Linked DNA regions of Homo sapiens: regions 2, 3, 4, 5 and 6 are each linked to region 1. The links are contacts of gene promoters, found by promoter capture Hi-C in blood cells and fetal thymus (Javierre and others, 2016). All regions are on one chromosome and are shown on one strand. The core of a region is centred on a gene start or on the middle of the fragment in contact, and the rest is flanking DNA. Distances in the headings are between cores, read along the strand shown.

Evidence for each region. The method cuts DNA at HindIII sites, captures the fragments that hold promoters and counts their contacts. A CHiCAGO score of 5 or more calls a contact.
Region 2: a fragment that was not itself captured here is called in contact with the fragment with the promoter of GADD45G in region 1 in 1 of 17 cell types (endothelial precursors); the score reaches 8.3 in endothelial precursors.
Region 3: a contact is called between a fragment that was not itself captured here and the fragment with the promoter of GADD45G in region 1, in 7 of 17 cell types (monocytes, megakaryocytes, fetal thymus and 4 more). The highest score is 10.8, in monocytes.
Region 4: a fragment that was not itself captured here is called in contact with the fragment with the promoter of GADD45G in region 1 in 1 of 17 cell types (neutrophils); the score reaches 9.4 in neutrophils.
Region 5: a fragment that was not itself captured here is called in contact with the fragment with the promoter of GADD45G in region 1 in 8 of 17 cell types (neutrophils, total B cells, naive B cells and 5 more); the score reaches 12.4 in neutrophils.
Region 6: a contact is called between a fragment that was not itself captured here and the fragment with the promoter of GADD45G in region 1, in 1 of 17 cell types (monocytes). The highest score is 7.0, in monocytes.

What each region holds. Positions count from the first base shown.
Region 1 is chr9:89,603,047-89,607,280 of GRCh38, forward strand. It overlaps GADD45G (growth arrest and DNA damage inducible gamma), which reads left to right and starts at 1,966. Exons shown (of 4, transcript NM_006705.4): 1 at 1,966-2,128; 2 at 2,386-2,487; 3 at 2,621-2,834; 4 at 2,923-3,509. The coding sequence starts at 2,076. The coding sequence ends at 3,033. LOC105376139 (a long non-coding RNA gene) reads right to left here and starts at 1,970. Exons shown (of 2, transcript XR_930105.3): 1 at 1-1,970. RefSeq lists an enhancer at 777-1,675 and a silencer at 1,286-1,335. The HindIII fragment of the contact is 4,421 bases long and covers 1-3,474 here.
Region 2 is chr9:90,894,745-90,898,978 of GRCh38, forward strand. It overlaps SYK (spleen associated tyrosine kinase), which reads left to right. Exons shown (of 14, transcript NM_003177.7): 14 at 784-3,805. The coding sequence ends at 856. Among named protein-coding and RNA genes, the nearest start is that of SYK, 95 kb to the left of the region's middle. The HindIII fragment of the contact is 1,955 bases long and covers 1,360-3,314 here.
Region 3 is chr9:90,828,626-90,832,859 of GRCh38, forward strand. All of the region lies in intron 1 of SYK (spleen associated tyrosine kinase), which reads left to right. Among named protein-coding and RNA genes, the nearest start is that of SYK, 29 kb to the left of the region's middle. RefSeq lists an enhancer at 2,308-2,377. The HindIII fragment of the contact is 8,521 bases long and covers 1-4,234 here.
Region 4 is chr9:90,786,849-90,791,082 of GRCh38, forward strand. No RefSeq gene overlaps it. Among named protein-coding and RNA genes, the nearest start is that of SYK, 13 kb to the right of the region's middle. The HindIII fragment of the contact is 4,892 bases long and covers 1-4,234 here.
Region 5 is chr9:90,769,490-90,773,723 of GRCh38, forward strand. No RefSeq gene overlaps it. Among named protein-coding and RNA genes, the nearest start is that of SYK, 30 kb to the right of the region's middle. The HindIII fragment of the contact is 6,012 bases long and covers 1-4,234 here.
Region 6 is chr9:90,696,732-90,700,965 of GRCh38, forward strand. No RefSeq gene overlaps it. Among named protein-coding and RNA genes, the nearest start is that of DIRAS2, 56 kb to the left of the region's middle. The HindIII fragment of the contact is 955 bases long and covers 1,919-2,873 here.

The sequences.
Region 1 (4,234 bases), core at 716-3,215:
CTCTCCCCCCGTCCTTAGGAGACACCTCTGGAGTTCAGAAATGCTAGGAGAGCAAGCTCTTCATTCTTAGAATCCAGGAAGGGCCGGGCTTTTGCAGCTCTCCTCTGCCAGGAAGCCGCTGGGGGGCGCAAGACGCCAGCTTCTCACCTTGGCAGAAGTGCCTGCCTGCAAGCGCAGAATGGAAACTTCCCCATAACAAATTCAGAAGTACCTTGTACATTCACCACCCACCTGAAGAAAGCCTGAATGAAAGGAACAAAGCCACGGCGTTGTTTACTTTCCCATTATCGCCCCAGTCTTGCGGCAGGGCCCGGGTTTCCATCCAATCCACCCGGCCCGCCACTGTCCTGGCCAGTCTCCAAGGCTTCACCCAAAAAAAGGAAGCAATGAGGTGTCCCCCAGCGCGCCTTTTCACGTAGCACAGAAGGTGCTCAGTGGGTGAATCCTCTGAAAGTGCCAGCGTGTATGGTCAAACGGCAGCAACCTCTAGCCTATTAAACTCTCCCAAGATCTCTTCCAGACTTATTCCATTGCCGGAAAAAAGGCTTTTTACATATGCGCATTTAAGTAATTAAGATATTTCAACATGGTATAAGACGTAGGGGCTCTTACTCCATCAGTACTGGATGGGAATTTCCTTTTGCCCTCTACTCCCCAGGGTAACTGCAGTCCCACCTGAATGCGTTTTGCAGCCCTTACTCGGGTTCTATTTATGCGCAGCTTGGACAGGGCTCACTGGGCCCGGCCGGGCAGCTCCGTGGCCGTCCCTCTCCACCGCCCTTCCCCCGCGCCAGGCCAATGCAAGGGTGTGTGTGTTGGGGGGAGGGGAGGACAAAAGGGGTTCAGGATCTTTTTAACCTGCCTGCAGATGGCGCCCCGGGAAAGATTCCGAGCTGCATTACCTAAGCTCCAGGGGCTGCAGCCGCGGGGTCCCGGCCACAGGGCGTCCAGCCGCGAAGACTGCACAGCAGCTCTCCGTCCTTCCCAACTCGCGCGGCTGTTCGGCACCCGTGCGAGGAACGGATGGAAGGGAATTACTTGTAGCAGGGCCAGTACTGGGGGCGTGCACTCAGGGACCACGGAGTGGCACTCAGCCTCGACCCCACGCGCCAGGCAGCCCGGCGACCCCCACGCGCGGCGGGGTCCTGCCCACCCCACCCGGCGGCAGGTGGACAGTGTTGCTATGAAGAGAAAGCCTCGATTGTCCCTACAGCAAACCGCCACACGCCAGACCTCTGCTATTGTGCGCCCTCCATAGAAATGCAAACGAGCGGCGTGCGCCGGCCGCAATCTGCTCGTCCCCGCCCGCCCCCGTCTCCCGCGCCCCGCCGCGCTCGGCCAAGGGCGGGGAGGTGGGGTGGGATCTTCCAGAGACGGCTCAATGTACACATTGAGTATGCCTGGCAGGCATCACCAGCGCGCTCGGGACGCTAGTGGTCAGCTGCAGGGGGCTGTGCCCACTGCCTTTTGCAAGCCTCTAACTGGCGCTACCTGTTTTTACCTTAATTTCTGGCTCCAATGCAACAGTCTCATAGACTTCAAATTAAAGAAAAGAAACAAATAGAAAGGTAGCAATACAAAATGCAAAAAAAAATCCCTTTGCTTCTATAAAGGTGCTTTTCGCAAATTGCAGCATCATATAAGCAAACAAGGTTTTTGTGGGTTGGGTTTTTTCTTTTTTTTTTTTTTTTACTTTTTCCTTTTAAGGACTTCAAAAAAAAAAAAAAGCCAGGCGAGATGAAATCTGCAGGCTCCAGTCTGCCTGGTAACACCCCAACAAAAGCGGCAGATTTGAGGCATTGTCATCCCCCGCACCCCTCCCCACGTGGCCTTCTGGCACGAGCCGCTGGCTCGCCGCCTCATTTACATCAGAAAGCGGGTGCCGGCCAATAGGCGCGCAGCCTCGCGCCAGCTGGCGGCGCCGCACCCACCAGCCTATATAAGGGCGCGCAGCGTAGTAGGGGCGCACTCGCTGGTGGTGGGCGCGCCGTGCTGAGCTCTGGCTGTCAGTGTGTTCGCCCGCGTCCCCTCCGCGCTCTCCGCTTGTGGATAACTAGCTGCTGGTTGATCGCACTATGACTCTGGAAGAAGTCCGCGGCCAGGACACAGTTCCGGAAAGCACAGCCAGGTGGGTTTCAGGGCGCTGAGAAAGCCGCTGGTCGGTCGGCGACCGTCAGGGTTTTCCAGGGTGGGAATCCGCGGGGTAGGAGGGGAGCGCGGGGGTCCGGGCGCCAGATCCCGGTTGGAGAGCCGGGGTGCAGGCGCTGAGCCGGGATTGGAGTGTGGTTGGAGTTGGGGAGCCAAGGGTGTGTGCCGGTGGCCGGGGCTGGGGTCTCCGCCGCGCCCTCCGGCCGGCTCCCGCTCACTGCGCTGGCTCCTCCGCAGGATGCAGGGTGCCGGGAAAGCGCTGCATGAGTTGCTGCTGTCGGCGCAGCGTCAGGGCTGCCTCACTGCCGGCGTCTACGAGTCAGCCAAAGTCTTGAACGTGTAAGTGTAGACGCGGCCCAGGCTGGGAGACAGGGGCGGGGGTGAATGGCGAGGAGACTGGCGGATGGGAGGGGTGGCGGCGGGAGAACTCGGCTAGCCGGTTCTGACCTAGGTCCCCGCCTTGCCCTCGCAGGGACCCCGACAATGTGACCTTCTGTGTGCTGGCTGCGGGTGAGGAGGACGAGGGCGACATCGCGCTGCAGATCCATTTTACGCTGATCCAGGCTTTCTGCTGCGAGAACGACATCGACATAGTGCGCGTGGGCGATGTGCAGCGGCTGGCGGCTATCGTGGGCGCCGGCGAGGAGGCGGGTGCGCCGGGCGACCTGCACTGCATCCTCATTTCGGTGAGTACAGTCCCGTCCTGTCCCCGCCCCAGTGTCGTTCCCGCCTCGGCCCGCGGCCAGCCAGGCTGACCCTGCTCTCTCTCCGCAGAACCCCAACGAGGACGCCTGGAAGGATCCCGCCTTGGAGAAGCTCAGCCTGTTTTGCGAGGAGAGCCGCAGCGTTAACGACTGGGTGCCCAGCATCACCCTCCCCGAGTGACAGCCCGGCGGGGACCTTGGTCTGATCGACGTGGTGACGCCCCGGGGCGCCTAGAGCGCGGCTGGCTCTGTGGAGGGGCCCTCCGAGGGTGCCCGAGTGCGGCGTGGAGACTGGCAGGCGGGGGGGGCGCCTGGAGAGCGAGGAGGCGCGGCCTCCCGAGGAGGGGCCCGGTGGCGGCAGGGCCAGGCTGGTCCGAGCTGAGGACTCTGCAAGTGTCTGGAGCGGCTGCTCGCCCAGGAAGGCCTAGGCTAGGACGTTGGCCTCAGGGCCAGGAAGGACAGACTGGCCGGGCAGGCGTGACTCAGCAGCCTGCGCTCGGCAGGAAGGAGCGGCGCCCTGGACTTGGTACAGTTGCAGGAGCGTGAAGGACTTAGCCGACTGCGCTGCTTTTTCAAAACGGATCCGGGCAATGCTTCGTTTTCTAAAGGATGCTGCTGTTGAAGCTTTGAATTTTACAATAAACTTTTTGAAACAAACTTATGCTCTTTATTGAGGGTAGGGGATCTTTGTGTCGGGGGAGGTGGCGTGCAGGGTTTCAGAGGATTGCTGGAACTCCGTGGAACTGATGGCACCTGTTCCGTCTTCCTGTCGGGCAAGAATGACAGGCTCCTCCCCTCTGGCAGAGGGAGGGCATGCTGCCCAGTGCTAGGGTAGAACTTGAGCCTGGCTCCTACTTTTCTCCTTTTAGGAAGATTTTAAACTTGCAAAACAGGAGCATACTTGAGATAAGACAGTGCAGCAGCTGAAGTCTTGCCTTCCAAGGCGATAACAGTGACCTGTGCCTCCCCTCCCCCTCCTCGGCCCTCCTCCCCCTCCCTCCTACAGCTGCTTATCTGAACAGCTTGCAGGAGGCCTCAGGCTTTCCTGCACAATGAGCATTGCCTTCTGCAGGCCCTGCCCTTTGTGGTCCCTGAGGATGGTGGCAGACTGCTCCTGCTCTTGGGGACTTTTTCCTCTTAAATGCTCTGACACAAAGCAATGCTACAAAGGTACTAATACCAAATATGACATTGATGACTGCATTTAAGTATGAGTCATTACTTTGTCATGGCTGTGATAGAACTTGGAAGATCTGAGAAAAAATTGGAAGGCAGCATCTATATAAATAGGCATGAGCAATTCTGAGGGGGCCTGGCATCTGCTATCTACTATTTTCAGTGTTCTCTGCCCACATCAGAGTTACGAGGATTGCTGCTATTCA
Region 2 (4,234 bases), core at 1,087-3,586, 1.3 Mb after region 1:
TTATCAGGGTTTTAGTACTTACTTCCAACTGATCTGTACAGGATGTCTGTGTAAGACAAAACAGAAGTGTCTGTAAGTGTTTGTTTAGAGACTGCGAACTGTTAATGCTTTTGCCCATAGTTTACTGACATTAGTGCCTCCCTGGCCAGCAGTGGCAGTAAGGACTGGCTATATTAAGGTGGATCATAGACAAGCCCTGGGTCTTTGCTCCTGCCATGACATGTTTTGAGCTTTCCTAAGAACCCATATCAACAGCCCATTTTCAGAAAATCCAGAGCCATCGATTAGAGCGTGGAAAGGGAGAATTAAAGTTATGTTCGTATTTCTTCTCTTAACAAGATTATGAGTCAGATGTTGACTATATCTGCAGAACATTTGCCAAGTATTTTCAGACACCTGTTTTGCTAAAATCACAGAGTGACAGCCTCTTCGTGTTGCCTGTGGCACAGAAGCATATTGTGTGCCGCATATCTGAACCTGGGGCTAAAACACTCCCAGTTCTAATGCAAAAAGTCTCCTACTTTAGGGTGGACATGAATCACCGGGAGGTCTTGTTAAAGTGCAGATATGGGTTATTTAGGTCTACAGTAGGCCGACACTATTTTTGACAGCCTTGTGGTCACCCTGGGGTGGGGGGCACAGGGACCACGCTGTGAGCTGCAGGCCCTAGAGTTAGCCACCAGGGAGCAGCACCACTGGTACTCAGCCTGCAGAGGCCCTGCTTGTGATCAGCAATTTTTCACAAGCACATTGACAAACAAGAATGCATCTCTTCCATTCCAGTGTGGAAAACAGGCCCGGATTCGCAGCAGTGGAACTGCGGCTGCGCAATTACTACTATGACGTGGTGAACTAACCGCTCCCGCACCTGTCGGTGGCTGCCTTTGATCACAGGAGCAATCACAGGAAAATGTATCCAGAGGAATTGATTGTCAGCCACCTCCCTCTGCCAGTCGGGAGAGCCAGGCTTGGATGGAACATGCCCACAACTTGTCACCCAAAGCCTGTCCCAGGACTCACCCTCCACAAAGCAAAGGCAGTCCCGGGAGAAAAGACGGATGGCAGGATCCAAGGGGCTAGCTGGATTTGTTTGTTTTCTTGTCTGTGTGATTTTCATACAGGTTATTTTTACGATCTGTTTCCAAATCCCTTTCATGTCTTTCCACTTCTCTGGGTCCCGGGGTGCATTTGTTACTCATCGGGCCCAGGGACATTGCAGAGTGGCCTAGAGCACTCTCACCCCAAGCGGCCTTTTCCAAATGCCCAAGGATGCCTTAGCATGTGACTCCTGAAGGGAAGGCAAAGGCAGAGGAATTTGGCTGCTTCTACGGCCATGAGACTGATCCCTGGCCACTGAAAAGCTTTCCTGACAATAAAAATGTTTTGAGGCTTTAAAAAGAAAATCAAGTTTGACCAGTGCAGTTTCTAAGCATGTAGCCAGTTAAGGAAAGAAAGAAAGAAAAAAAAAAAAGGCCTGGATACTGCTTTTGCTGTCTCTGTTATGAGATGGAAGACTTACATGTTTGTGATAAAAGGGGACCATGAGAATGAATTGGCTTGGCTTACTTTCCCCCTGAAATCCTCTCTCCTGCAGACTGTCTTGAAGACCTGGTGACTGGTAAATAAAGCCCTGCATGGAGGCTGCACAGCAGGGGCAAGAGGCCCATCCCCCAGCATCTCACTGAGGACAGCTTCAGGCTGCCTTCCTCTGAACGTGGTCCACACCTTCCTCTCCTCCACAGAGAGGGTGCCGCCAGAATCCCCTGTCGCTTTCTGTGTCTGCAATGGGGGGCAGCACAGGGATCAAAGCCATCTAAAGAGTTTCCAAAGAAAGTATTAATTCAGAACAAGCCAAAGACCCTGAGCCTCACCACAAACAGGCCTTTTGGAGTGTGAATTTGAGTTGAAGATACAAGATCGGAGAATGATTTTCTGGTCTTAACTAATCCTCATCTTCATGTTTGATCTTTAAGAAGTCATCACCCATTGATTTCAGTTTTGCTGTACCTCTTGAAAGTTAAAGAGACATCTCAGCACTTTAGGAGGCCGAGGCGGGTGGATCACTTGAGGTAAGGAGTTTGAGACTAGCCTGGCCAATATGGTAAAACCCCATCTCTACTAAAAATACAAAAATTAGCCGGGCATGGTGGCATGTGTCTGTAGTCCCAGCTACTCGGGAGGCTGAGGCAGGAGAATCGCTTGAACCCAGGAAACGGAGGTCGCAGTGAGCCAAGATCATGCCACTGCACTCCAGCTTGGGCATCACAGCGAGACTCTGTCAAAACAAACAAACAAAAAAACAACTTAAAGAGGTAATTTAGCCATCATTCTTATGCCAGCAGATATAAATAAACTTGGACCCATCTGGTCTTCAGCTAAACCTGAGACATTTTAAAGTGCATGGACAGCCATGGACAGCAGGCCCTCCTCTAACAGGGGATGCAAGGCATGGAGAAAGACAATCAGTACCCAAGCTCAGCCACAGAAGACAGGAGTCACTCATATAACTTGTGTTTAGAAGTTTTTGGTAGCCACGCACACTTTCTGAAATCACACTATCTGGTGGTTTAATCATATTTTTAAAGACAGAATCCCTGAGTGCTGAGCAGATTCTCAAAACACATTTAGAATCCCTGAAATTAGAAAGATCAATGACAAAATATCTGTCAGCCAGGCCACAAACAGGTGTAAAATTATGAAAGGAGTGGTTGGATGTGCCAAGTTTGGTAAAGTGGTGACTGCATCTGAGAAAGAGGCTGTGAGGCTGAACTCTTGGTGGCTTCCTTCTGTAACTTCCAGAGGGAGTCTTCAACACAGGCCCCGTGCTCGTAGGAATACGGTAGCACCTATGTAGGAAGTGCGTGGAGTTTTCTGTCTTCTTTCTGTGTGATTTTTGGCCTTTTTATCAGCACTTCTCCCCTCCCAGGAGCCTGGGGATGCCAAACATCCAGAATGTGATGGGACAAGATGGGGGCAGGGGCCTCACCTCCCTGCAGAGGTCCGGCCAGGTCTCCTTGTCCCTGGACAATCTCCTGAGCCTCTCTGCTTGGTGGAGCAGGCACCTGTGTGCAGAATTCCCACTGTGGCCAGCACGAGGAAGTCTTTTCTAGTGAAAATGTGTCTTGTGGTCAGGAATAATTATCCTTTCCCCTGTAGCCACCAAGGAGGGCAAATAGAGAAAGGTAACCTAATTGAAGGATTGGTCATGTGAAAAGGGCTACATTTGGGAAGCTGGGAAAGGCCTCCAGGCTTCTAGAGCAGCTAGCTTGGGCTGGATTCTCATACCCAGGCTGCCCCTTGGATTGTTCTACCCAAGCTTTTCCCTGGGGTCTGGGCTCACTCCATAAGGTAAGGTGCCTTTTACCTTATGGTCCTTCTTTAGCAGGTAACAAAGGAGCATCAGGGGCAGGCTGCCCTGGTGGCATCACACTGGCTAGTGAGGCCGTGAATATCTTGTCCCCCAGCAGGGCCGACAGTTTCTATCACAGAAAACAGTGTGTTCAGTGGTGAAAATCGTTGCATGCATGTTTTCATCTGAGCGTGTCCTTCTCCCATACTCCCTATCAGCCAGCCCTGCCTGTAGCTGCTGTATGGTGATTGCACTTGGACATCAGTCCAATGACTGCAAGTCGGCCTGGATTTTCACTTGCAGAGGCTACAGCTGCATTGTCAGGTCTCCCAGCCCTGCAGAGAGCTCCCTCCACTGGTTAGCAGTGTGTTGTGTTTTCCATTCATTTCAGAAGAGCTACATTGTGTCACTGGACATTTTTAAAAACTGTGATTTTTAATAAAAATTTAAAATTTGCTTTGTGATGATTTTCATGGAAGTTATTAGGATGTGGTAAGTCACACTGTCAAATAGTGTCAAGCAGCATTGTCAAAGGGGTAGCTAAATGTTTTCTAAAACATTAAGTCCCTGCCATGTCCCAAAAAAGTGAATGTGTTGGCCGGGTGCAGTGGCTCATGCCTGTAATCCCAGCAGTTTGGGAGCCCAAGGCAGGAGGATCTCTTGAGCCCAGAGTTTGAGACCAGCCTGGACAACATAGTAAGACTTTAGCTCTGCAGAAATCAAAACATTAGCCGGGTGTGGTGGTATGCACCTGTAGTCCCAGCTACTTGGGAGGCTGGGGCAGGAAGATTGCTTGAGCCTGGGAGGTCGAGGCTGAAATGAGCTGTGATGGCACCACTGCACTCCCAGCTGGGTGACAGAGCAAGATCCTATCTCAAAAAAAAA
Region 3 (4,234 bases), core at 509-3,008, 1.2 Mb after region 1:
GTTGCAACCCAGTGTTCTGTTAATTATTCACAAAAGCTAGCTCTCTTTTTAATTACCAATTGTGTGTGCGTTGCGTGTGCGTCCCTTCCCCCTTCTCTGAGCACACCTGTATGATGAGGCATGTACTTCTTCCTGGTGGAGAAGAACTGCAGAGATGTCTCCCAGGTTGAGCCTGCAGCCTGGCCCGGTCACCAGCACAGCACGGTGACTTGACTGTCCTCCCTGGCTCCCTTCCCCACCCGTGGCAAGTGGCAACTTGCTTTCGCTCACACTGAACGTGGTCAACTTGCCTCCCTGTCACACTGTAGCACTTGAATAGGGCAATATTAGATTATAGCAGAGGTTCTCAGACATTAGAGTGCTTAAAAATCACCTGGGAAGCAGGCCAGGCGCAGAGGCTCACGCCTGTAATCCCAACACTTTGGGATGCCGAGGTGGGCGGATCATGAGGTCAGGAGTTTGACACCAGCCTGGCCAACATAGTGAAACCCTGTCTCTACTAAAAATACAAAAAATTAGCTGGGTGTGGTGGTGTGCGCTGTAGTCCCAGCTACTCAGGAGGCTGAGGCAGGAGAATTGCTTGAACCCAGGAGGCAGACGTTGCAGTGAGTGGAGATCGTGCCATTGCACTCCAGCTGGGGTGACAGAATAAGACTCCGTCTCAAAAAAAAAAAAAAATCACCTAGGAAGCTGTTTAAAATTTACCCTTCTTGTCCGTATGCCCTATTTGCTGGGTCTGAGGTGGGCCCAGAACCCTGCTTTCCAGAAGGGAGCCTGAGGGTGGGGTGCCCTGAAGACCACACTCAGGAAGAACCGGACATGTGAGCTTTCATGAGCCAGAGTCCTGCCAAGAACTAGAATCTGCAGGTGGCTTTGGCCAGTCCCACTTAGAGGCAAGAAGACGTGAGGATAGTAGAGAACCTGGAAATCACGCAGTCCCCAGGATGAAAGTGGAACTCTCGGACCAGATCCTTATTCTCTTACTTTCGTGAGCCATTTCTGCCTACCTGTTGTCAGGGAGGCAGGAGGTTCATTTTTCTCTCACATGGTGCCTGACATAATGACTTGCACGTGATAGATGCTCAACAAGCATATTGAATGAATCAATCAGTTAGATTGTAAATTAAATGCACCAGATGGGCTGGTTGTTTATTTATAACTACACAGTTAACATTTATATTAACATAATGTTAACACCAAAGCGTAATATCTGTTTTCTGTGTTAATTATGGCAAGGTGGGCATAGAGAAGAGATTTCTGAGTGTCTTTTGCAGAGCTTGAAAATGTCTATGTGTTGGTTGAGATAGATCAGCCTTTACTTGATGCACTTTCAATCTTTTAAGTTCTGAAGGCACAGCAAGAGAATTTGGTGTTGAAGGTTTGGATAATGTTTTCAAGTATTTCAATATCCCTCTATTTCTAAACATTAGTAAAAATCATGCCTCATGCTACCATCCTTAGCTTCACTTTGTGTTTCTGAATTGTGTATCTCTATATACTAAGAAGTCCCCCATGTATGCCTGCAAATATGGGAGAGTCAACCGCTCAGCAGAATGTGCACAATGTAAGGCTGTGCCTTGGAGACCAGGCACCCTGTGCAGTGTGATGCACAGGCAGGCCTCAGGATGGCGCCGTGGAGGGCAAGTGATACCTACTGACGAAGCCAGTGGAGTGGATGCAAGGCCAACTCAGGCCCTGCAGCTGGGGTTCTGTTCCTCAGTGTTGAGGCCACAGGTCTGTGTCCACATGTTTTCTTTTGTACAGTGGGATTCTGCCGCACAAGGCAGTGCCCCCAGCCCTTTGCAGATGAGTCAAACATGCTTGTTTGCAGAGCCTGGTGCTGGGTGGGGTGGTCCCATCACATCACCTCTTCCTTGGTCATTTCTCTGTAATTAATCAGCCAGTCCCTGACCAAACCAGCAAGATCAATTCTCCCTCTGGTTGGACTCATTCCTCTTTTTTTTTTTTTTTTTTTTTTGAGATGGAGTCTCGCTCTGTCGCCCAGGCTGGAGTGCAGTGGCATGATTTCTGCTCACTGCAAACTCCGCCTCCCAGGTTCATGCCATTCTCCTGCCTCAGCCTCCCAAGTAGCTGGGACTACAGGCGCCCACCACCACGCCTGGCTAATTTTTTGTATTTTTAGTAGAGACGGGGTTTCACCCTGTTAGCCAGGATGGTCTCAATCTCCTGACCTTGTGATCCACCCGCCTCAGCCTCCCAAAGTGCTGGGATTACAAGCGTGAGCCACCACACCCGGCCTCCTCTTTCTTATGAAAATTAACCCACAGATGAAGTTTCCTTTCACCCAAGTCTTGACAATTTTCTCAGCTTCAAGCTGCAGAGGAAATTCCTAGGCACATCTTAACAGGGCTGCTTTGCATTGAGGGGGCTGTGTGGTTTGAGCGTGATAAGCCTGGATATCTTTCTGCACTATGCTGATTTTTGTTCCCTTAAATGGTATGGATTTGGCAACAATTGTTTGCAGGTGATCTTTTCCCAGAGAACCACTTATTTCCCCCACTGTCTCTGTATGATAGGAGGGCTCTAATGGCCCAGGGATGTGAAAGTGAGACACCTTCAATCGCTAAGGACTGCTGGAAATGTGAACTACAGGAAGTTGAGGGGGCTGGAGGGGAGGAGGCAGCACCTGCCGGAGCCATGCTTCAGTGGGTCTCAAGAAAAGCAGAAGCCTGGAATCTCAGGGCTGAGGCCCCTTGATAACTAGGACAGATGGGTTAATAAAAAGGGATACAGAGACATAGGCTACCTCTTCTGGTTCAATGCCAAGCTAGAAAATCCTGAAATGAACACAGATTTATGAGATAGGAGTAATATATTTAAGAACACAGTCTTACATAGAGATAACTATTTTCCCAAAACATCCAAGGTAAATTTATATATCTTTATGGATGAGGTTGGGTCTTTTCAGGGAAGGTTGGGGAGACGGAAGGGAAATTACTTATTATCAGTCCTCATGATTCATGGATTCCATATCTCCGCATTCATCTATTCATTTAAATCTGTTTGCAACCCCAAAATCAATACTCACAGCACTTTTGCAGTCATTTGTGACGTGCACAAAGCAGTGAAAAATTTAAGTCACCCAACACATACGTTGAGGTCGCACAAGGTGACACTCTGCTTTCTTGTTTTAGCTCTTATAAACACATTTTCTTTTCTCTTGGCCCATTTAGTCCATGGTTTTTGCATTTTTGTGCTTTTCTGGGGTGATTTTGCTATTTAAAAATGGCCCCAAACACAATGCTAAAGTACTTACTGTCTGGTGTCTCTAAGTGCAAGAAGGTTGTGATGTGCTTTACAGAGAAAATACGTGTGTTAGGGAAGCTACTTTCAGGCATGAGTTATTGTGCTGTTGACCATGAGTTCAAGGTTAATGAATCAACAATATATATGAAATAAATATCTTTAAATAGAAATACACATAAAACAAGGTTCTGTATTGATTGATTGACAAAAAAGTTGTAACCAGAGGATCACAAAAACCTAACACCATATTTCCCCAGGAGCAACTGTTCAGGATTTGCAAATTCAGCTTTCATGGTGATTTTATAGAGCATAACTATTGTGAATAACAAGAAGCAACTGTATTTTGTTTCATGCATAAGATGGAAAGAGAACAGAACCAGAAGTATGATATCGATGAAATGGAGAGAGGAGAAAGAAAAGAAAGAAATGACACTATGAAGATTTATTAGTTAAAATGTTACTAGTGATAATAAATTAATCAGAACTTTGGCCTCTGCCTTTGATCCTGGTTCCCATAATCTCTAAGTGCCAGGCTCAGATAATGTGGCCCTTGCAGGGTTTGGGCAGCTAGTCCTCTAACCATTTTCTACAGGTAAACGTGGACATGAAAGAAGCCAGGGTGAGGCAGGCAGCTTCCAGAAGCACACACTGGGCTCAGCTCCTTCCTTCCTAACCTCTATTTTAGCTCCACGTACCTCTTCAATACCAGAAAGTCTTCTTCTGATTCTGCCAGAGCCCAGCTCCTAGAACCTAGCTCATACACTCACCAGCCTTTTTTGTCAACAATTCATTCAAATATTTATTTACTTAAATATCCATTAAGCACTGTTGCTTCTCTCGCCCAACTCCATTGCACATGCTATATCAGTTATCTGTTGCTACATAACAGATCACTCTAAACTTAGTGGTTTAAAACAACAATAATTACTTATTATTGCTCATAATTTCTGTGGGCCAAGCATTTGAG
Region 4 (4,234 bases), core at 598-3,097, 1.2 Mb after region 1:
GAACATATAATCCATTAAAACTTTGTAAATCAATAAAGATTAGTATCTCATAAAAAATATTGAGAAATTTGATGAATAAGGATTTTACAAAAGAAATAAATATGAACAGTCAACAAACATATAAAATAGTTTTCAACTTCTATAGTTAAAATGATACAAATTAGAAACAAAAATGAGATCTCTTTTACCTCTAGGATGAGAGGTAAAACAAAAATGAGATCTCTTTTACCCCAGAATGAAAACATTAATAATGCCTAGAACTAATGGCTCTAGGTAGCAGAAATGCCTGCCCTCACAGCCTGACACCAGGAGCTTGCCTGTTCCTATAGAAACTGTGTATGATGAAGGGACAGGCACCCCTTCCTTGGGGCAGATGCAGCTCCCTGCTGGTCAAACAGAGGGTGGTCTAGGTTTCAGCCCCACCAGACTCAGAGAGCACCCCTGTGCTGAGCACAGCCTGTACCAGGTGGAAGTATAAACCAGAATTGAATCTTTCCTAAGTGCAATTTAGCAACAAATGTCACAAATAAAACAGCATCTCCTCTGACTCTCAACATTTCTCCTAGGAATTTATCTCTTAGAGAGATTTATCAAGGATCAAAGATGTATAAACAGGAGTGTTCCCTGTATAGTAGGTCATAATAACAAAACCCTGGAAACAACTGTGTATCAGTCAGGGGTTGGTTAATAACCTCATGGTTCATGCATTCAAGAGAATGATATATAGTCAATAAGAAGACAGTATGGAAGTATTTCCACAACATGCTATCTAATCCAATAGTCAGCTTACTAAATCACATATGTAACAACATTTACACTTACATTTCTGTATGTAGAGACAGATACTAAAATATTAACAAAAGTTGGAGCATATTTGCCTCTAAGATTGGGATTTGGGGTGTCTTATATTTTACCCCCTTTATTAATTTTTCTATTATATATTATTTTTGAAACATCAGAGGGTTCTTTATCAAGTCTGTTCTACTTACAAATTCTGCACTCATTTATCCCTACCTGGCCTCAAAGCCCCCAGAGTTTCCTTGAGATCTATTTTGTCTTTGACACAAATCACAGAGCACCCCGTTTGGAGAGGAGTGAGCTGCATCTTGAGGACTCACAGACCCAGAGGTGAAAGTGTAGCCAAGAGTTCAAAACTGTGGACAATTATGGTCAATCAATCATCTCTTCCATATCTACTTGGCAATCAAGTTTTACAGCTACCTGGGTTAATAATAACAAAATATACATAACTTAATAATCTTGTCATTTTGAATTTAGTTTCACGGTAGCAACCTCGACCCTAGATCAAACTTGGAAATTGAAATCAATCAACTCTTTCAAACATTTTTCAATAAAACAGATGTGTATGGACAAGCAGGAAATGCCTATTCATACTGAAACATATTTGAGTCAGAAAATATAATCTCTGTTCCTTGTTTCTAGGCAGTTTTTTCCGAGTACACTTAAAATAGATGATGATTCCCAGTGTAGTAATATGTAACAGAATTTAACATCCATTCATTTAATATTTTATATTAGAAGACTCTCCAAAATAATGTTATAATTTTTCTCATTTTTCTTTTATATTTAGCTAAATTTGCCCTGTGGGTCACTCATCATACCATGTATGAACTTCAATAAGCAAATCCATTTGAGTACCGTCAAACTGAAAGAAAATCCCAGTGTAGTAATATGTAACAGAATTTAACATCCATTCATTTAATATTTTATATTAGAAGACTCTCCAAAATAATGTTATAATTTTTCTCATTTTTCTTTTATATTTAGCTAAATTTCCCCTGTGGGTCACTCATCATACCATGTATGAACTTCAATAAGCAAATCCATTTGAGTACTGTCAAACTGAAAGAAAAAGACTAGTTATTTGTCACACAGTGTCGGTTGTGTAAGATTAATTTTCTGCTGTCTGGGATAGGCATCTGTAATCTTCAGCATAGGCTCCAAGGAGGGCACAAAGATTATTTGTCTGGGTCAGGAATGAGGAGGTTGCTACTAATACTTCAGCCCCAAGAAAATCTGACAGTAGGAGGCCTATATCCTGGCCCATGTTCCTCAGGTCCTTGGAATCTGGTTGGCCAAAGTGTTCCACCTGGTATTTTCCATGCCCTGTCCTGCCTGCCCAGAGAGGCACACACTGCTTTCCCCACCCCAACCCCATCAATAAAAACCCTTTAACTTCAGTGCCTCAGGAAAAAAGAAGAGAAACAGTTCTTGAATGAAAGAGTGGATAGTTTCGTCGAAACTCTCTCCAATGAAACAATTCTTTGAGTGGCAAAAATTATAAAAAATAAAACACGTAAAAATCTCTGGGAATTGTCCTAAAGACACACAGCAAGTAGAAAACTATTTATTTGAGAAAAATGATAAAATATCAGTAAGAACACAAGAGCCCGCATCATCTGAGCCATGACCTGCTCTCATCTCCTCCCCGGTGTTCAGCATAACACAAGCTCTACTCTGGGTGGAGGCTGCCAAGAAGATGGGTGTGCTCTCCCCCAGCTCCAGTCTACAGCTCCAGTTTTACCCCAGCAGGGGCAGGCCTTGGGCCTCTCCCATCCCCTCACCCCCATCTTCTGGTTGCAGAAACTGCATCCCAGGACACCCATCTCCCGGTTGCAGAAGCTCCATCCCAGGAAACTGCATCAAGAGAACTGGGGCTCCCTTCCCCCACCAAGCCCCCACTCGTAGAGTGGATGCTTTACCCCAGGGACTCTAATTGCCACTTCCCTAGCACCCTTATAAGGCAGAAGTTCCACTCATAGAAGGCTACTGACCCCACCCAGTGCCCTGCTAGTAGAGTCAGGGTATCAGCCCAGGAGAACCAGGCCACTGTCTCCACTCCCAGGTCCGGTGCAAGAGAGCAGAGTTTCTTCCCAGTGGAAAGGCAGGTTGTAAGAGCAGAGAGCTCCCTAGCTCACCCTAAGGGGGCCGACTTTATTTGAAATAGAGGACAAAGTCCCAGCTAAGTATTCTCAAAAACAAGAAGGTCCTTAACAATTAAAAGGAGCAACAAGTAAAACATAGATGCCAGGAGCAACAATGATGCCAGGAGCAACAAGAGAAACATAGACCAGCTGGAACACTAACAGAGGAAAAGAGGCAGTTCGGAGGTCTCCCGATGTGGGAGCAAGCCTCAAAGACTGGTAACAGCTGTCCTGCAAACAGCACTGACTTTAATGGGATTTGACTGGAGGAATTTATACCTTAGGGCATTGTTGAGAACAACAGAGAAATCAGCAGGCCACTAGAACAGGCTAAGATCTGTTGTGACACCAATAACAAACCGGACATAAGCTCAACAAGGAGATTAGAGACAGAGAGAGCCAAAGCGATCCCCACTCAGACCACAGTCATCCTGATGGTCAGAGAGACAGTTTCCACACCCAAGATGGCACTCACGGAAGAGCAACATCATAGGCTGCACATTGTCAGGGAAATAGATTTCACTGGAGTCCAGCCAAGACCCTAAACACATGCTAAAGCAAGCAACAACAAACCCTCAGAGGGCAATCAGTAACAGACGTGCTATAATATATTATCAAAAATGTTGGCTTTTCTTTTCTTTTCTTTTTTTTTTCTTTTGAGACAGAGTCTCGCTCTGTTGCCCAAGCTGGAGGGCAGTGGTGTGATCTAGGCTCACTGCAACCTCTGCCTCCTGGGTTCAAGCAATTCCCCCGCCTCAGCCTCCCACGTAGCTGGGACTACAGATGTGTGCCACCACACCTGGCTAATTTTTTTGTATCTTTAGTAGAGACAGGGTTTCACCATTTTGGCAAGGCTGGTCTTGAACTCCTGACCACAAGTGATCTGCCCACCTCGGCCTCCCAAAGTGCTGGGATTACAGGCATGAGCTACCATGCCCAGCCTAAAATGTTGAGTTTTCAACAACAAAATAGTGAGACACTCATAGAATCAGGAACATATCACTGGGACATAAAAAAACAGGCAATGGAAACTGCCTTTATAAGGACTCAGATGGTGCATTTAGCAGACTTCAAAGGAGTTATTATAAATATTATTGACAAAAAGAGTCAAACTCTATAAAATATTTGAAGAGATTTATTCTGAGTCAAATATGAGTGATCAATGGCCTGTGACCACAGCCTTCAGGAGATCCTGAGAACATGTGCCCAAGGTGATTGGGCCACAGTTTGGTTTTATACATTTTGGGGAGACATAAGACATCAATCAATATGTGTAAGATGTGTATTGG
Region 5 (4,234 bases), core at 1,169-3,668, 1.2 Mb after region 1:
AGGGGCTGATATGGGGTCCACTTCTGGAGGTATTGGTTGGGCTTACTCTTTTGAGCAGTAAGAAGTATAGGCTGGAGCTAGCTGGATAAGGGGGAGAGGTGCCTGATGACCTTGGGATGGAATCCTTTGTTAGAGAACTGGCAGGACCCTCCTCAGAACGGCGGCACTGAGGAGGCTCCAGGGAGGGCATAGGCCTTCTGTGAGAGCAGCTAGGAATGCCACTTGATGCAGGGCAGGCCAGTCCCAAAACTGGGGCTTAGCCTGGGAAAATTGTTGGCTTCACTCAGGAAAGGTTTCAAGAATGAGCTGGTGGTAGAAAAAAATGGCTTTTATTGGGGCAACAGTGTTACAGCTCTGTGACTGCCTCTGCAGAACCAGGATACCTCAAAGGCCGTGTGTTTGAGTAGCAGTTCAGAGGCAGTTCTCCAGTTATATTTATACATACTTTTAATTACATGCAAATTAAGGGGTGGGTTACTCAGAAATTTCTAGAACAGAAGTGGTAACTTCCAGGTGTTGGCACGGCAGTCGTAAACCATCATGGTGCTGGTAGGCATGCCTCTTCCCTGTTTCAACCAGTCTTCAATCTGGCCCGAAGTGAAATCCCACCTGCCACCTCACCTCCAGTGGTGTCTGCAGTGACATTTTGTTCCCTCTTTCAAAATCGTTTTCAATGGGGTCTCTTGTGGGTGGGGCATTAAGCACAAGTGCTCAGCCAACTGCACTGAACCAGAAATTCTGCATCTGTGCTGACCAGAGATGCTTTCTGGAAAACCAAGTGTATAAACCATGGGGACCATGGGACACATGTCACGCTGCTCTCTCACACCTTCATGTATGTCCTTTAGTGTTGCGCAGCAGCAGCCTCTAAGGGAAGCAGCCCTGAGATGTACTTTTAAAACATTTTTACTATTTCATTTGATTTTTTACAACTATGAGTCACAGATGTTTTACTGGGGAAAAAAATATGTAGAAGACATGGCTGGATGTGTGTTATGAGAAAGAGGTCAAGTGCAAATGAGAAAAAGAGGAACTCATGAACCTCTTCTGCCTTTTGGTGAGTGGCCAGTCATTTGAAACTGTGAAGCAGAAGGTAGTGAGGGGCAGTTGTTCCTGTGGGTGCCAAGGGGAAACTTCCTCTTTGCCCTTGGAAGGGTCACTGAAAATCAACTGACAAGAGACAGATTAATTGGAGAAAAGGCACACATATTTATTAATGTGCACAGGAATCTTACAAAGATCTCCAAGAAATGGTAAGGAGGTTGAGACTTTTACACTATCTTTTTAAAGGCTTTTGATATAGGGTCTCACTCTCTTGCCCAGGCTGTAGTGCAATGGCAGGATCATGGTTACTGTAGCCTCAAACTCCTGGGCTCAAGCAGTCCTTCAAGCAATCCCGCCTCAGCCTCCTGAGTAGCTGGAACTGTAGGCCTGTGCCACCATGGCTGGCTAATTCTTTTCACTTTTTGTAGAGATGGGGGTCTCGCTATGTTGCCTTGAACTTGAACTCCTGGCCTCAAGTGATCCTCCTGCCTTGGCCTCCCAAAGTGCTGGGATTATAGGCAGGAGTCACCACATCCAGCCTATACACAGCTTAAGGTTACAGAAAAAATGTGGGCTTGGAGTACGGCCAAAAACTGGTTGCGGTGGTAAATCAGGTTATGATGTCAAGGCAGGTTATGGGAGGAAGAGAAGAGGAGGTCTGGCTTGCAAATGTGGTCTTATTATACAGGTGAAACCTTACAGGTAGCAGTCCTCAGAGAGAATAGATGGTAAATGTTTATTTCAGAAATTTAAGGTGTCAGACTCTGTTAATCTTTTCTTGATCTGGACAAGGGTTAGCCTCAGAGAAAACCTGGCTGCACCATGCTGATTCTGTACAGATGCAAATCTCCCCGCAAAGGACAGCTTTGCAAGGCTACCTCTGTTTGCAGGCCCTCTGAACAGCCACCTCAAAATATGTCAAAGAAGGATATTTGGAGGTGAAATATTTTGGTTTCCTCCATTACAAATCTGGATCTGACACAAGATAGTACCATTTACTCAATGTATAGCTTGGGCCAAGTTGTTTGAATTCTCTGTCCCTCAGTTTATCTGTAAAATGAAGAAAATAATAGCACATACTTCACAGAGTTTTATGACAATCTAATTAATATAAGCAAAGCACTTCTAATAATGCCTGGCACATTGTAAATAACCAACCTGTTATTAGAAGACAGAATCCATGGATTTACTGTTAGTATAAACAATGTGCTCTCTGCTACACAGAAAAGCAGTCTCCAAGGGGAGCATCCATTTTCCATTTGGAATTCAAGCAGAAGCAGCGTCCCTGAGCCAGGAAGGTGGGCCACAAAGAAGAGAAGGTAGATCCATGTGTGCAGGGTGGGGCCATGGCTGTAGCAGCAATGCCCATTCCTGGCCACAAGCACAGATGAAGGTGCTACCAGGATCCAGAACCAGGCACTGAAGAGGGAAGTGGGCAAGCCATGTAAGTGATCACAAAGCACTTAGGTCACGAGAAGAGGCGACCCAGACCCCACTCCCCTAACCATCATGACAAGAAGGAAGAACCAGCTCCCTGCCAAGGGGAGCTTTTTAATTAGTATGTTCATTTAACTGATGCCAGCTCTCATTTCAGAATGTAAATTCAGTCTTTCCCAAAAAATCCTTGGATATCTTCAGGAAGTCCCAAGTTACTGTTAAATGTGGACACTTTCATCCCTTCTACCTTGGCTTTTTCAGAAGCAGACGCAGATTTGAGATCCCAGTAGAAAGAATTTATTTGGCAGGTGCAAGGTACCCCAGCAAGGGAGCAGGGACATGGGACCAGGAGGGGAAGGTGAGACCAGGAAGGGAAGGCAGCGCATTTGTGAGCCGCTGGAGCACAAGGAAACTGCAGAAAAATCTGTGCTTCTTCCTGAAGGATGAGGGAGCTGGGACATTCAGACACCGGCCTGTCAGTCATTGGTGGAGGGCTGCCAGGGCTATTAATTCCCTAGCACTCAAACCACCCTGGACATGGGCAGAGAGGCCTCCTGAGGCTTAGGAGAATGTCCTCAGGCAAAGAAGAAGTTGCAACTCAGATAGAACCCCCCAGGCCAGAGGGGTGTGAGTGAGTCACCAACAGTTCCTGTTACATTTACATTTAGGGAGAAGATTCTGGAACCCAACATAGATAGATCAAGGTAAAGAGCATCCCTCCCAGAAGGTTGCCAGGATGCTCTAGAGCTCATGAGATTTGCTCTTGCTGACACTGAGAAGCAGGAAGGAGTAGGAATGGAGAGTGCAGACTTTGAAATCCGCCCATCCGGGGCTGCTTCCCTGCTCTGCTCTCATAGCTCTGTGATCTTGCGCAAGTTCCGTAGCACCTCTGGGTGAGTTTTCCCATCTGTAAAACGGGGATGATGATAATACCTGTAGGGCTGTTGTGAGGACATAACACAGTCATACAGATAAAGCACTTAAAAAGCACCCAGCCCTTAAGCGCTCAAACATTTGTATTCTACATCTTTTGTCAATTGCCTTTGTTTAGAAATGCTCTGGCATGTTGGGTGCTCAAAAGATGTTGACAGTAATTTATTCACTACGACACACCAAGAATTAATGAAATATTGCTAAGAAAATAAAAACTAGTGTTCATCACATCCTGCGATGTGATGTCTCTTCAGAGAACCAGGCGAGGGTATGTGGCCAATGAACAGCCAATGAAGTCACTGTCAGAGTGGCTTTGTCACCCAAGGAGCCCCTACTAGTTTATTAGGGCAATCTGACTTTCAGATCTGAATCCTAGCAGTGTATGGATATAAAAGATACCAAGTCTAAAAATAATAATTATAAAGATCTTAAAAACAACCTGTGACACTCACAAATCCGTTTGACTGGTAATTTTTGAGACATTGGACCATATCTAATACTTGGCAACAGGGCACCACTGTGCTATCATGAAGCATCATCATCAGTTCCAGCGAAGGTGAAATGGTTTCTATTATAGGCATGTTAATAACTTCTATTAATAGAGGCGAGGAAAAGCACAAAACCTTTATCTCTTCTTTTCATGCATGGAATAAAATGAGAACTCTATATTACAAAAAAAAAAAAAAAGATTCCCTTTCTAATGCCATCCAAGGAACAATATTCTAAGTGTGCCTACTGAGACAGGATTTCATCTGAATCTATTGCTATGTATTCTCCAACATCCCCTCCAAGAAGATTAGACCATTTCCAGCTGAGACTG
Region 6 (4,234 bases), core at 1,146-3,645, 1.1 Mb after region 1:
CTCCTCAGCCACACTTCCCAGCACCTCTGCCCCCAGTGCCCCCAGCCCTTTCCTTCACAGTCCTGGCCTTTTCACATGCTGTTATAACTCCCTGACCTCCTTCTATTCCATTCAGAACCTAACAGTCCTCCCTGCCTTTCAGAGGTCACCTTTGCCTGCATGCCTGATGACTCTCCAATCTAAGTCAGCACAATGCCCCCAGCCCTGAGTTACGCCTCTTGTGATTTCCATTATTTTCTCTGTATAGTAGCCTTTTTTAAAGAGGATGTCACACTTTTTAAAACATCTTAGTTGAACATCCTCACTTTGGGCTTAAGGCCTAAGCACAAATAGAGCTGTCAGCCTGTTCTTCCCATGCTCTGCTAGCAGCAAAAACAGCAGCTTTTGTGACCACGTGGATCACAAAAGGTATGGCGTGGCCAAATGGAGGGAAAAAGCCAATCAAAGGAGCTGCTTAGAAATCCCAGTGACGTCTTTCAAAGAACTGTTCAGAGAGCCAACAGCCACTGGTCTCTAATCAATTCTCCAACAGAAACAGTGTAAGATTTTTAAAAAAATAAAAAATAACACTTTCTTTATTTTCAACCAAGGAAAAATCCCAATTTTGCCTTTCATAAAGTCCAGGCTGTGACCTCTCCAGGGATGTCACCTCCATCATAGGACGCCCCTCCCACTGCTGGGTCATGAGGGATGGGACTGCTCAGCAGAAACGTCTGGACCCAAGAGCAAAATCCTCTACCTGGGCCATTTCCAGTGTGCCCTTTTTTTTTTCCCAACATGTACGTTATGTGCTTCTTCTAATAGATCACCCAAGCAGCTAACTAGCACAACCAAACAACTTCGGTTCTCACACTGTTCCTTAATAATTGCATTTTGATGTCAGCAATGCAGTGTTAATTGCTACAAACTAATGAGAAATGCACAGGATGACTTCATGCGTAAATATGTTCAAGCAACACTATACAAAGGATTTTTATCGTTGTTGTTGCTGTTTTGGTAATGCAAAGCCAGAAGAGAGAGAACAGTGTCATTGTGGAGCACACACTGGTATAAAGATGCCAAATTCTAAGGGATTTGCAGCACATGCATGGGGGCCATGTTGACATTGGGAGCAACAGTTGAGCTTTCTGCTACTGGATGGGGCGTGGTCCCAAGAGCAGAGAGGAAGGGCTGGGGACCCTGTCGAGGAGCATGTCTGGCTGGGCATCCCATGGAGGGCTGCTCTGTGTGCTCCCTGAGCATCATCAGCACAGCAGCCTGCACCCTCTTTCTCAAAGTTCCTCTCTTTGTACCAGAGCCTGCCCACACACCGTTGCTTAAGAGGGGAACATAATTCCGGTTGCCATCAACTGTATTAATTGCTTACCATCTTTTCTCTAATCACCTATATCACAAAATCATCATGCATGCCATTAAGAGGAAGTCCTATTTATCAGTCTACAAGCATTTATTGAGGTCCCTCGCCCCTTAGGAGCTGACAGCAGATGACAGCTGACAATGATGACAGTTGTAATCATTGGCTTTCCAAGACTGCAACCCTCAAACTGGTTCTGAGGTCATCAGCTTCAACAGTTTCTGGTTCACATGGTAGGACTCTATATTCATCATTTTGTAGAAAGAACTAAATGACGAGAACATATGGACACATAGAGGGGAACAACACATACTGGGGCCTTTCAAAAGGTGGAGGCTGGAGGGTGGATGGTGGAGGGTGGACGGAGGGAGAAGATCAGGAAAAATAACTAATGGGTACTAGGCTTAATACCTGGTTGATAAAATGTAATCTGTATAACAAACTCCCATGACACAAGTTTACCTATGTAACAAACCTGTACTTGTACCCCTGAACTTAAAGGTTAAAAAGAGAGAGAACTTTTGCAAAATATCCTTTGTCACCAACATAAGTCCCAAGTGTAAAAGCTTCTCTTTGTGGAATCAGTGGCTAATTTTCATCCATAAAGGTGGCATTTGTCCTTTCTACTCCATCACATCTGACGTCAGTTCAGTGCAACTTTTTAAAAAGATATGCATTCTATATTTAGTTCCAGAAAAGATTCAAGCGGAGTCAAATGACTGTATACAATGCAGTAAGAAAATGTAAAATTAATGAGAGAGATAAGAGAGAATGAGGGTACCAAGTAAAGAATGTAGTAAGAAGTTTGTGGGAAGGGGGTGCTTTCTTTCACTGCAGTGAAACTCACATAATATAACATTTACCGACTCAACTATTTTTAGTGTACCACTGAGTATTAAGAACATTCATAGTGTTGTGCAATTATCACTACCATCCATTTCCTCAACTTCTTCCTCTTGCAAAACTGAAACTCTGTGCTCATTAAACACTAACTACACTAACTCCCTATTCTCCACCCCTCAGTCCCTGGCAGCCATCATCCTACTTTCTGTCTCTAAGAATTTGACTACTCTAGCCACCTCATATAAGTGGAATCTCATAATATTTGCCCTTTCATGACTGGTTTATTTCACTTAGCATAATGGCCTCGGGGCCCATCTGTTTTGTAATGGATCAGAATTTCATCCCTTTTTAAGGTTGAAAAGCATTCCGTCATAGGAAAATACCAGAGATATATAAATGTATCTCTTTTACATGACATACTTTAACCTCTGTGTTCATATAAGTTTCACAAAACACGATCTATGTCATTGTGGAACGTCCGAAATCATGGCTAGGGTAGGAGGTCATGATAGTTGCGAATAGAATTATTGTAAATCCTTTCACAAATAACTGAACTCAACTCACTGATTGTTTTGCTGCCCCCATCCCCGCCGCGCGCACACACACACACACACACACGCACACTTTTATTTTTTCCTTTCCAACTTTAAATTATTCTCGTTTCTCACTATCTAAAAGCTTGGTGTCCCTTCTGGGTTGAAAGTGTTATTATAATTGCTGCTTTTCTGCTGCAGCCATCTCTTAAAAGATTTAAATTAAATGAAAGTATTTCTGACAACTTATAAAATGTGAAACTCAATGTAGAGCTCTGATTACATTTTCTGACAGTGAAGGTTTCTTGGAACGTTATCCATTTAACAGCTATCTAGTGAGTGCCTTGTCCACATCAGGCACTGTTCTTGGGGCTGGGGATTCAGCAAGGAACAGAGACTCTGCCTCAGCCTTTCCAGGCTTACATGCATTTGTGTTCCAGAGGTGAAGACCGACAATAAAATACCAGTAAACAAATGGAATAATTGCAAGTTATGGTATGTGTTAGAAAGAAACAATGCAGGACTGATGTAGAAAGTCTCCACAGTGAGTGGTGTGCTGAGGTGGTCAGGAAAAGGGCACTCCAAAGATAGACAGGACATTGAAACTGAGATGGAAAGCTATCGAAGAAGCTGGTGATGCAGAGAGATCCACACAGACGGAGGAGCATGTGTGAGGTCCCTGAGCTGGCAAAGAGCGTATGATGGTCAAGGAGCTACGAGCCAACATTGAATCTGGAGAATGATGATCTGGGAGGAAGGTAGCACAGAGGCTCTGGGGAGGGAGAGCCTCAGAGATCATAATGAAAAGTGAAGTTTATTCCATGTTTGCTGAGAAGCACTCAGGAGTGGGTTGTTTTGCTTGTTTGTTTTATTTGTTTGTTTTTGAGACGGGGTCTCGCTCTGTCGCCCAGGCTGGAGTGCAGTAGCGCGATCTTGACTCACTGCAAGCTCCGCCTCCCGGGTTCACGCCGTTCTCCTGCCTCAGCCTTCCGGCGCTCCGGAGTGTTTCAAGCAGGATATCACCTGAATTGTACTTGAAAAGAAGCTTTCTTGCAGCTTGGTGGCGCTTGGATTGAAGAGTAGCAAGTGTGGAATGTGGCCACTAATGAGCGGGCTGGAGCTTAGCACAGGTGCTCCTGATGCGGGCTCAGCTAGGGGCCCTAGAGCCAGAAGAGGCAGCTGATTCAATCTTCTATGGGAAATGCACTTGAGGGTCCTTATTCACCTGTTAGGGATAAGCAGTAACACCAGGTGTTTGGCTTGAAAACTGAGAGCATGGTGGTGCCCTTTGCTGAGATTCCTCATCTCAGTATGAGACAAGGGCATTTGGGGGTGAAACTCAAGGGTTCTGTGTTGAAGAGTTAGAAATGAGCTATCTGCAAAAACCCAATGGAGGTGTAAAGCTTGTTTGTACTGTATGCTAGTGTGGCTTCCAGTGGAGAGCTCAGAGCTACAGATACAATTTTAGAGTCATTAACATAAGGGTGGTATTTGAATTCATGAA